Regions from separate parts of the Homo sapiens genome. Here region 1 is linked to region 2. The links are contacts of gene promoters, found by promoter capture Hi-C in human tissues and cell types (Jung and others, 2019). All regions are on one chromosome and are shown on one strand. Each heading gives the region's core, a stretch centred on a gene start or on the middle of the fragment in contact. The rest is flanking DNA. Distances are from core to core; before and after follow the strand shown. Region 1 holds the start of CYP20A1 (cytochrome P450 family 20 subfamily A member 1). Region 2 holds the start of FZD7 (frizzled class receptor 7).

Evidence for each region. The method cuts DNA at HindIII sites, captures the fragments that hold promoters and counts their contacts. A contact is called where the count stands out against the background at its distance.
Region 1: the fragment with the promoter of CYP20A1 here is called in contact with the fragment with the promoter of FZD7 in region 2 in 1 of the 25 tissues and cell types used here (stomach).

Annotation. Positions count from the first base shown.
Region 1 is chr2:203,236,806-203,242,560 of GRCh38, forward strand. It overlaps CYP20A1 (cytochrome P450 family 20 subfamily A member 1), which reads left to right and starts at 2,213. Exons shown (of 13, transcript NM_177538.3): 1 at 2,213-2,329. The coding sequence starts at 2,258. RefSeq lists enhancers at 1,914-1,963, 2,249-2,820, 2,644-2,933 and a silencer at 2,034-2,243. The HindIII fragment of the contact is 20,829 bases long and covers 1-5,755 here.
Region 2 is chr2:202,030,892-202,036,538 of GRCh38, forward strand. It overlaps FZD7 (frizzled class receptor 7), which reads left to right and starts at 2,964. Exons shown (of 1, transcript NM_003507.2): 1 at 2,964-5,647. The coding sequence starts at 3,757. The coding sequence ends at 5,481. RefSeq lists silencers at 2,546-3,095, 3,206-3,285 and enhancers at 3,848-4,688, 3,886-4,005. The HindIII fragment of the contact is 12,054 bases long and covers 1-5,647 here.

The DNA of each region.
Region 1 (5,755 bases), core at 963-3,462, 1.2 Mb after region 2:
TTTTTACAGCCCTCAAAGTTCAGAGAGTCTCAGGATGTAGGTCAATTTAGGACTAAAAGAGAATTCTAGATATCTTGAAGGATTGGTACCTAAGATTACGGTACCTAAGATTACGGTTATATGGCTACCTTATGCAGTTAAAACTCTTATGTTTGGCCGGGCGGGGTGGTTCACGCTTGTAATCTCAGCACTTTGGGAGGCCCAGAGGGGCGAATCACGAGGTCAGGAGTTAAAGACCAGCCTGGCCAACATGGTGAAACCCATCTCTACTAAAAATACAAAAATTAGCTGGGCATGGTGGCGCGTGCCTGTAATCCCAGCTACTCGGGAGGGTGAGGCAGGAGAATTGCTTGAACCTGGGAGGCGGAGGTTGCAGTGAGCCGAGATCCCGTCACTGCACTCTAGCCTGGGCTACAGAGGGAGACTACGTCTCAAAAACAAACAAACAAAACAAACAAACAAAAAACTCTTACATTTACTGTTTTGAAAACCTATTGGGAACATCAGTTTGACAAGAAATATCTTTAAAATTCTGAACAAGAGACTTAAAAATGAACTTTGAACATACGACAGTTTAAAGCACATTTATATGCAGAGAAAGACTTAAAAATACAATTTCTGCCAAGTGAAATATTAAACAGCATGTTTCATTATATTTGCTATAGATGCCAAAAGAGTTGCCATTTTCAATGAGGTATGTTTCCTGCTTATGTAACAGTCATTTATCATAGAAGCTGTAAAATGCAATCTGGAATTTCTCTTGCCAAATTGCTGCCTGTTCTTGACATTTTATATTATTAAAGCTATAAAATCTATAAATACTTTTAGCACACTTTCACTAAAAGCAGCACTAGTAAGTAGCAGGCCTTGTCTTGTATTTCAGTAGCCACGTCAAAACTTCTGAGCCAGGCGAAATAGAAAGAGGGGTCCTAGGGTATTTTATGCCCAGGGCAACAAACGCCAAATGCTGACGTAGATAGCACTTATTCGGTTTTGCCAGGAGCTGTGCTAAGTGATTTTCATAAAATATGTAATTTAACCTACAGGCAACTCCATGTGGTATTATTTTCACTTTTTTACATAGAAGGAAATGGAAGCTTAGAAAACTGAAGCAATTTACCGAAAGTCAGAGTTAACAGAGCAAGGAAACCTGAACAGTGTGCAGCCTCCGCTCACCAGAAAGTGTCAAAGAATCACATTTACTAGTACTTCAGACAGAAATTCTGCGAAACAAGGCGTATCTACTCTTGTTTTACTCCCAGACACTTCCCTGTCCCGCTTAGATCAGTGGTGGTTTTCACTCAAATTTAAGTGTGTAACAGTGTCCCCGGGAGGGCTCTGTTCAAACAGATTGTTGTACGCGCCCCCTACCCCTGCCCACCCCGAGTGTTTGATTCAGTAGGTCTAGTTTGGGATCGAGAATCTTTTTATTTTGTTTTCCTTTTGTTTTGTTTTGTTTTGTTTTTGAGACAGGGTCTCGCCCTGTCGCCCAGGCTGGAGTGCAGTCGTGCCATCTCGGCTCACTGTAGCCTCTGCCTCCCCGGCTAAAGTGATCCTCCAGCCTCAGCCTCCGGAGCAGCTGGGGCCACAGGCAAGCGCCACCACTGTAGGCTAATTTTTTTTTTTTTTTTTTTTTTTTTTTTGTAGAGACTGGGGTCTCACTATGTTGCCCACGCTGGTCTCAAACTCCTGGGCTCAAGCGATCCTCCCGCTTCAGCCTCCCAAGGTGCTGGGATTACAGGTGGAGCCACCGCGCCCGGCATCGATAATCTGAATCTCTAACGAGCTCCCGGGCGACGTTGATGCAGCTGGTACCGGGACCACTCTTCGAAAATCATCGGTTTAGAGGTTTTAATTCTGAATCCATTGCGAAAACTGTTGGGCGGACAGAGCACTACTAACTCCTAACTTTTCTCAGAAAGCTGGGCTCTGCTTTCGCCAGCAACCCGGTCCGAAGTCGCGGGCATATTCTGTCTGAAATCGTGTGCACCGAAATCCCCGCCTTGCGGTGGAGGCTGGCGCTAGGCGGCCTCAGCCTCGGCCTGCTGCGCTCAGGAACCCGCGCCCCGGCTCCTCGGCGATCCATTGCTCTTTCCTCTGGCGCCGGCCGCAGGCCTCGGTCACGCCCCCAGCGGCCCGTTGGTTTCCGGGTCCCGCGGGGTGCCCCCGCCCACACGCTATGCCTTAAATTGGGCCAGGCTGAGGCGCTGCTGCTGGAGCGGCCGATCCGAGACGTGGCTCCCTGGGCGGCAGAACCATGTTGGACTTCGCGATCTTCGCCGTTACCTTCTTGCTGGCGTTGGTGGGAGCCGTGCTCTACCTCTATCCGGTGAGCGCCGTCTTGGCTCTCTGGGGCCCCGGGCGCCGCCCCAGTCTCTCTGTCGCCGGCATCCAGGCCAACCTGCCCGCTGCGGGCCGCAGGGGGCGGGCCTGAGAGGAGGGTTCGGGTTCGCTCCAGAGCTTCAGCGCGGGGACCGCACCCGGAGTCACGTGACGCCCCTCCCGGCAAGCTCTGAGAGCGACGTGGGCTGCGTCGCTACCCCTCAGGCGCCGGGCCAGGCGGGCGTAGAGCTGCTGAGGAAAAGCCCGCGCCCCCGCAGGCCGGTCTCACCTTGCCAGGCACCCCGCGCCACTCTCCAAGGCGGCTCTCAAGTACTTTGGGCAGCTTTTTGGCCATAACTCGCCAAACCCAAATTTCATTTCCCAGTGTGTCAGGACGAGACTCCTGGGCGCGCCACTCCTTTCTCCTTTCTTGAGGATTCTCCCAGCACTTGTGTATTCCTCTTTTCCATCTGTCCATCGATCTATCCTGACTGGAATCCAAAGTGCTCGAGGTCCAGGTCTTGCTCCTCTTAGGGGCTCCAGGCAAATGCTTCTTTGGGGAGAGCGCCGCGCTGCGGGTTCGGGTGCGAGGTTTCCTCTGCCGCTGACGCCTCTGCGAGCCTCCGGTCCTCCTCTCTCCACTTGCCTCCGTCAGCGAGAGAGGGAGGGTCTGAAAACAAAAGTGTTGATGACTGAGGACCGTCTTTAAAACCTGTTCTACACACTTTGGGAGGCTGAGGCGGGCGGATCACGAGGTCAGGATATCGAGACCATCCTGGCCAACATGGTGACACACCGTCTCTACTAAAAATACAAACATTAGCTGGCTGTGGTGGCGGGCGCCTGTAATCCCAGCTACTCAGGAGGCTGAGGCAGGAGAATCGCTTGAACCTGGGAGGCGGAGCTTGCAGTGAGCCAAGATCGCACCACTGCACTGCAGCCTGGCGACAGAGCCAGACTCTTATCTCAAAACAAACAAACAAACAAACAAAAAACACCTGTTCTACAAAGCAAGGTGGTGGTTTTACAGTGAAAGTTGAAAAGTAGCTGAACTGCTGGAATTGACCATACACCTTCTTAAATGTTCTTTTCCGAGCAGGTAAATGGATTAGACTAGAATCTTGCAACTACACAATCAGGGACTTCCTGAAATCTTATTTTCTGAGAAACTAAACAATTTTAGTGGTTCTTGAATTTTTGGTGATTTTAAAATGATACTCTTCTTTGATCAGCTCATAGAAGCACACTGTTTATTCTTAGCACTAGCTATGTGCCAGATATGGTTCCACGTGCTGGGAATCCAGCCGTGAAACAAACCGGACAGAAAATTCCTGACTCTTGGAATTTATTTCCTAGAGAAGGGGAACAGACAATAGAAACAAATAACATAGGATTGTGGGTAGAAATAAAGTTGGGGATAGGTAGATTGTTATTTTAAAGTAGGATGGCCAGGAGATACGGAGACATTTGAGTAGAAACGCGAAGAAGGTGAAGGTGCAAGCCATTCTGAGAAAGAGCATTCTGGGTCGAGGGAGCAGCAAATGCAAACCTTCAGAGGGAGACACGCCTGGTGTGTTCCTGGAAAGCAAGGGGACCAGTGTGGTTAGAGTGTAGTAAATGAGGAAGATACCAGAGGAGAGAAAGTCAGAAAGATGGGAGTGAAGGACAAATTTTAAATGACTTGTAAGGCTTTTTTAATGGACTTTTGCTGTGTGCCACTGGAGGATTTCAGCAGATGAATGCCATTTGAAATTGGATAGAATTCAAATTTAATTTTATTAGATAAATTTTAAAAGAATCATTGTGGTTGCTAAGTCATGAATTGACATGGGTCTCCAGGTAAGGATGGAAGCAAGCCAAGTAATTAGGAGGATATTATCATTTCAGCTTGGATCATGGTAGTAGTGGCACAGATAATGAGAACTAGTCAATTGTGAAGATAGTGCCAATGGGATTTCCCAGTGGATTGGATGTGAAATGTGAAAGAGAGGCATCAAGGAAAACACCAGTTATTTTTAGCCTGGTATCTGGAAGGATAGATTAATTCCAGGGAAGATCAGGGGTTTTGCTGGTGGTGGTTGTTCTTTAGTTTTGTTTTGGTGGGAGGTAGTGGGGATTTATAGAGATTAGGAGTTGGTTTTGGGTGGGCTAGGTTTGAGATGCCTGTTAGACATTCAAGTGGAGATGTTGAGGAGTAACTGAATATATGTCTTGAGTTTATGGGAAAAGTCCAGGCTGAAGATACACATTTGGGAGCTATCAATGTATAGATGGTATTTAAAGCGAGGAGAACTGGTTGCTATCTCCCAGACAATTTAGATACAGGAGAGAAGAGGTCCCAGGGACCATTCCCTGGATTCTCCAATGTTAATGGTTGAGGAGAGAAAGAAGAGCCAGCAAAGGAGACTGAGAAGGAGCAGCCACACAAATAGAAGGAAGCCAGATGTTTTAAGCAGAAGAGGATAATCAGCTAAGTCAAATGCTGCAGATATTTTAAGTTAAGGCCTAATAATTTGATAACATTGGTAATCTTTATTTTTTGTTTTGTTTCATTTAAGAGACAGAGTCTCACTCTTGCCCAGGCTACAGTGCAGTGGTACCATCATAGCTCATTGTAACCTCAAACTCCTGGCCCCAGGCGATCCTCGCACCTTAGCCTCTCAAGTTGCTGGGACTACATGCTCATGCCACCACACCTGGCTAATTTTTAAATTTTTTATTTTTTATTTTTTGATACAAAGTCTCGCTCTGTCGCCCAGGCTGGAGTGCAGTGGCATGATCTCTGCTCACTGCAGCCTCTGCCTCCCAGGTTCAAGCGATTCTTCTGCCTCAGCCTCCCAAGTAGCTGGGACTGCAGGCACACATCACCACACACAGCTAATTTTTTTATTTTTAGTAGAGACAAGATTTCACCGTGTTGGCCAGGCTGGTTTCGAACTCCTGACCTCAAGTGATCTGCCCACCTTGGCCTCCCAAAGCACTGGGATTACAGGCATGAGCCACCGTGCCCAACCTAATTTTTTAATTTTTTAATTTTTTATAGAAATGGGGTCCTGCTTTGTTGCCCAGGCTGGTCTCGAACTTCTGGGCTGAAGTGATCCTCCTGCCTCAGCCTTCCAAAGATCTGGGATTACAGGCATGAGCCACCGCAACATTTGTAATCTTAAGAAGAGCGGTTTCAGTGTAATTGGGGTGATAAACCTAAATGGTGTGGATTCAGAGATATCAAGTATAGATAGCTCTTTAGAGTTTTGCAGTAAAGGGGGCTGATAACTAGAGAAGGAAGTGAGGTGAATTTCTCTTAAGGTAGGAGAAATTACATTATGCTGATGAGGGCTGTCAAGTCATAAAGGAGAAACTGATGATGTAAGAAGCTTATGGCCAGCACGGTGACTCAAGCCTATAATCCCAGCACTTCGGGAGGCTGAGGTGG
Region 2 (5,647 bases), core at 1,714-4,213:
CCAAAATAAGTAGCATTTGCAAAACTGGAGCCAATGAATAGCATCACTTTTCTGTGGGACCATATGACTACATGTGAAGAAATAAAGGCCTTTGTTATTTTAAAGGGCAGGGACAATTGGAAATTTTGCAGCAGATAGTCACAAAATTTTCCACCCTTGGCTCTCCCAAGAAGATACCAGTTAGTGGCTTTGGGAGTTGGGTGTGGAAGGGGTTGCTTAGGAAGCAAAATTAAAATGATCCTGGACAGAATATAAACAGATGTCACTACATTTGTCATAGAACCTAAAACATGATTAGACCCTTACATTGTGAACTTACTTTTTCTGATCTTCTATGACTTGGCTCCTTAAAATCATAGCATTCTATACCAGGCAAGGCTTGGAAAGCCAGAGCTCCCCCTCTCACAGCAAATTCTTATTTTGGAGAATAATTTTGGATTGATTTTTTAAAAATCTTTAAAAACAAAACAATCTGTTTTAAAAATTGGCTTTGCTTCTCTGCTTTTTGGACTTGTCTGCCTGGGACAGAGCAAGAGGACTCACATCTGTAACACTTTCCATCTGGGATGGGTTTTCTGCATCTTAGGCATAGACTGCTTTTCATTCGTCCCTTGTATTTAAGGGTTTTTTTTTTCTAAATTATTATCCCTATTGCCTAACATCGGAGCTGTCTGGGGTTATAATATGGAGAGTAGAAGCTCATCAGCTAAATTGGTTTTAGTTGCAGTTGAGACAGTATTTTATCCTGTCAGTTTTCATTTTATTTGATGACAGTGCTTGGTATTTCTTCCTCAATAAGCAAAGATGACTTAGATCAGTGGCCTGATGAATAAGCATGAAATTTTGATTTAGAAAAGGAGGATATCCTGAAGCTCATGGAGAGAAAAAAGGAATCTAACCCCCCACCACACATACTTTAAATGACAAAGCAAAGCAGCAGCATTGTCTTTAAGCAACATATTTCAACCGAAGATCAACACTCCCCGATGTTAGGTAATAGAAATAATAATTTAGAAAGAAAAGGGGGGCCCTTTTAAAAACACAAAGAAGGAATGAAACATTTTTAAAGCAGGTATCGTATTACCTTCAGCACATGTCCCAAAGAAAAGGAAAAAAAGGGTGGGGGGGTCCGGGAGGGAGGGCGAAACTGATGCTTGGGAGGAAGAAGGCGACTCCCGCTGAGGGCCGGATGGAGGATGTGATCAGTCTAACACTCTGCCTTGGCCCAAAGGCTTCCTTCCGCCCTTTCGACCTATTAACAGGAGTGGGGAAGGACAAAGAACCGTGAATCGGAAAGAACGATTCCCAGCAATCTTCAGTGATCGAAAATAAATAAAGAAAAACAGAGAAAGCCAAAGTCTCCCATGGAAGGGAACCCAATTAATTGTCTTCGATTTCAGAATGAGTTTTTTTCCTGCTGTAGAAGAAGCGCACGGGAGGCAGCAGAGACAGCAACTTCTGCCAAGGTTCAACCTGATCAGAAATCGCTCAGAGCTCCAGCACCCGGGACTGAGGCAGAAGGGCTCCGCCAGGAATAACGTTTTTTAAAGCACAGGATTGCTGTGTGTGTGTGTGTGTGTGTGTGTGTGTGAGAGAGAGAGAGAGAGAGACAGAGGAAAGAGGAGGAGGAGGAGAGATTGATTGATTGATTTTTTTCTTTTCCTTCTCAACATGTCACTTTCCTGCATGGGAATTCCTGATATTCCTGGCAGCCCGGAGAGAGGGGAGAGGCCCCCTGGTGACTTATGACCCCCGCAGGAGTAACCAGAGAGCGCGCGCGAGCGCCCAGCGCCTGGCTCAAGACGAAGATTTAACCGAGAACAAAAGAACGTTTGCCAATCAGAAAACGCTACCCGAGAACGAGGATAACCCCGCTTTGTGTTTTGAAAACTCTTTAATTAGCCTGGTTTCTAAGACGCATTAAAACATTCCTACGCAGATTCTAAATGGAGGATCAAATGGTTGCTTCTGCAACGAAGATGGGATCCCGAAAGGGCACACGCCGCAGAACCAAGGCACACGGGGCCACTGAGACGCCCGGCGCGTCGTACAGAGTGTTCCTGGGCGCTCGGTCTCAGGTTACTTCTAGAACCAGTCTCCCCAACGCCGTCTTCGTTTCCTTAAAACCTCGCTAGAGTCACCCCAGTTCCCCAGACTCCAGGCCGTGCGCGCGGGCGGGGTGGCCTGAGCCCGGGTTCCCCGCTCTCCCTGCTTCGGGCCCTTCCTCCGAGGGGTCCTTCCTCCCGCCGTCACTCGGCCCCCTCCGCCCGACTCGGGTTTCTCCTCGGAGGCGGCCCCTCCTCCTTTTTATAACTCGGGGGAGGGGAGAGGGGACTGTGGCCTCGCGTGGACTCTTTGGGTCCGGGGGGAAAGAGGCGATCCGCAAGGCGCACCCCCTTCTCGTCCCGTCCCAAACCCCACATTGAGGACCCGGCGACCCGAAAGCCCCGCCAGAGCCAGCCTTTGCAGTCCTAACGCGACTCCTGGTCACGTCTCTCCCCGAAGGGGCGCTGCGCGGTCCTCGCTCCCCTCAAACGCCGCTGGCGAAGGCGCCCCTGCTCAGGAATGCGCATCTGAGTGCACCAGGAAGAGGAACAAATCTTTGAAGCAAATTCCCTTTCTGCGCGTTTTCGTCCCTGAGCGAATTCAGGGTAAAAGTTTTTCCGAACTTTTCCCTCCCAGTCCCCCGCCCCTCCCCTCAGGAATCCGCCCAGAGCGCCGCGGACACCGCCTCCGCCACTCCCGCGCCCGCCCCTTCCGACTTCCGCCCAATCCGAAGGCGGCCACCGAAAAAACAAAGGCCGCCATTGGGCCGCCGGGGCCTGGGGCCGCCCCCGGAGTGGTTTGTGAATGGGGGGGGAGGGGAGGGGAGGGGAGGGGACGGGAGGGGACGGGAGGGGGCGGGCCGGCCCGGAACCCCGCGAGCCCGACGCTTCTTCTGGCGACCAGCGCGACTCCGAGGCGTTAGTCGGCGCTCACTCCCGGCGGGCGGCGGCGGCGGCGGCGGCGGCGGGCGCCAGGACTCGCTGCTGGGGCTGCGAGGGGCTGGAGGGGCCGGGGCCAGGCCGCGGGCACGAGCGCCTCGCGGTTTCGGACGCAGTGTGACTGGGTTTCCAAAAAGAACTCGCCGTGCTCCCGACTCCGGGGCCGAGATCGGACTCAGCAAGAGCCGGCCGTTTGGCTGAAACTTGGGGCCGAGCTTTTGGGGCTGAAGAAGGAGCGGGGTGTGGAGGAGGAGGCGAAGGAGGCGGCGACGAGCGGAGCCTCGAGGCCAGGAGGCGGGGCAGCACCGCGGAGGCGGCGGCCGGGGCGAGCGAGCGGCGGCGGCAGGGGTTCTCCTAGCGGGGACCGGACCAGGCGCGGGGGGCGTGCGCGCTGCGGTGCGCCGGGGGTCCAGAGTCTTGGGCAAACTTTGAAGGGTGCCGGAGCCGCTTGTTGCTCCTCGCGGCGGAGGGAGCCGCACCGTTACGTCCCCGCGGGGAGAGCGAGGCGGCCCTCCTCGGCGCCCCCAACCCAGGCTGACGAGTTTTGGGCCCCCGGCGGCCCTGCGAGTGCAGGGCGGCGGCGTCTGCGGCGCCTTCGCGGCGCGGGCACCCAGGCGGCAGCGCCCTTTGCTCCACGCCGCCCACGGCCCGGCCCCGGCGCCGTGAGGACTCTCATGCGTCGGGCGCGGCGGCGCCTCCCCGCATCCAAGCCTCTCCCAACCGCCTCGTCGCACTCCTCAGGCTGAGAGCACCGCTGCACTCGCGGCCGGCGATGCGGGACCCCGGCGCGGCCGCTCCGCTTTCGTCCCTGGGCCTCTGTGCCCTGGTGCTGGCGCTGCTGGGCGCACTGTCCGCGGGCGCCGGGGCGCAGCCGTACCACGGAGAGAAGGGCATCTCCGTGCCGGACCACGGCTTCTGCCAGCCCATCTCCATCCCGCTGTGCACGGACATCGCCTACAACCAGACCATCCTGCCCAACCTGCTGGGCCACACGAACCAAGAGGACGCGGGCCTCGAGGTGCACCAGTTCTACCCGCTGGTGAAGGTGCAGTGTTCTCCCGAACTCCGCTTTTTCTTATGCTCCATGTATGCGCCCGTGTGCACCGTGCTCGATCAGGCCATCCCGCCGTGTCGTTCTCTGTGCGAGCGCGCCCGCCAGGGCTGCGAGGCGCTCATGAACAAGTTCGGCTTCCAGTGGCCCGAGCGGCTGCGCTGCGAGAACTTCCCGGTGCACGGTGCGGGCGAGATCTGCGTGGGCCAGAACACGTCGGACGGCTCCGGGGGCCCAGGCGGCGGCCCCACTGCCTACCCTACCGCGCCCTACCTGCCGGACCTGCCCTTCACCGCGCTGCCCCCGGGGGCCTCAGATGGCAGGGGGCGTCCCGCCTTCCCCTTCTCATGCCCCCGTCAGCTCAAGGTGCCCCCGTACCTGGGCTACCGCTTCCTGGGTGAGCGCGATTGTGGCGCCCCGTGCGAACCGGGCCGTGCCAACGGCCTGATGTACTTTAAGGAGGAGGAGAGGCGCTTCGCCCGCCTCTGGGTGGGCGTGTGGTCCGTGCTGTGCTGCGCCTCGACGCTCTTTACCGTTCTCACCTACCTGGTGGACATGCGGCGCTTCAGCTACCCAGAGCGGCCCATCATCTTCCTGTCGGGCTGCTACTTCATGGTGGCCGTGGCGCACGTGGCCGGCTTCCTTCTAGAGGACCGCGCCGTGTGCGTGGAGCGCTTCTCGGACGATGGCTACCGCACGGTGGCGCAGGGCACCAAGAAGGAGGGCTGCACCATCCTCTTCATGGTGCTCTACTTCTTCGGCATGGCCAGCTCCATCTGGTGGGTCATTCTGTCTCTCACTTGGTTCCTGGCGGCCGGCATGAAGTGGGGCCACGAGGCCATCGAGGCCAACTCGCAGTACTTCCACCTGGCCGCGTGGGCCGTGCCCGCCGTCAAGACCATCACTATCCTGGCCATGGGCCAGGTAGACGGGGACCTGCTGAGCGGGGTGTGCTACGTTGGCCTCTCCAGTGTGGACGCGCTGCGGGGCTTCGTGCTGGCGCCTCTGTTCGTCTACCTCTTCATAGGCACGTCCTTCTTGCTGGCCGGCTTCGTGTCCCTCTTCCGTATCCGCACCATCATGAAACACGACGGCACCAAGACCGAGAAGCTGGAGAAGCTCATGGTGCGCATCGGCGTCTTCAGCGTGCTCTACACAGTGCCCGCCACCATCGTCCTGGCCTGCTACTTCTACGAGCAGGCCTTCCGCGAGCACTGGGAGCGCACCTGGCTCCTGCAGACGTGCAAGAGCTATGCCGTGCCCTGCCCGCCCGGCCACTTCCCGCCCATGAGCCCCGACTTCACCGTCTTCATGATCAAGTACCTGATGACCATGATCGTCGGCATCACCACTGGCTTCTGGATCTGGTCGGGCAAGACCCTGCAGTCGTGGCGCCGCTTCTACCACAGACTTAGCCACAGCAGCAAGGGGGAGACTGCGGTATGAGCCCCGGCCCCTCCCCACCTTTCCCACCCCAGCCCTCTTGCAAGAGGAGAGGCACGGTAGGGAAAAGAACTGCTGGGTGGGGGCCTGTTTCTGTAACTTTCTCCCCCTCTACTGAGAAGTGACCTGGAAGTGAGAAGTTCTTTGCAGATTTGGGGCGAGGGGTGAT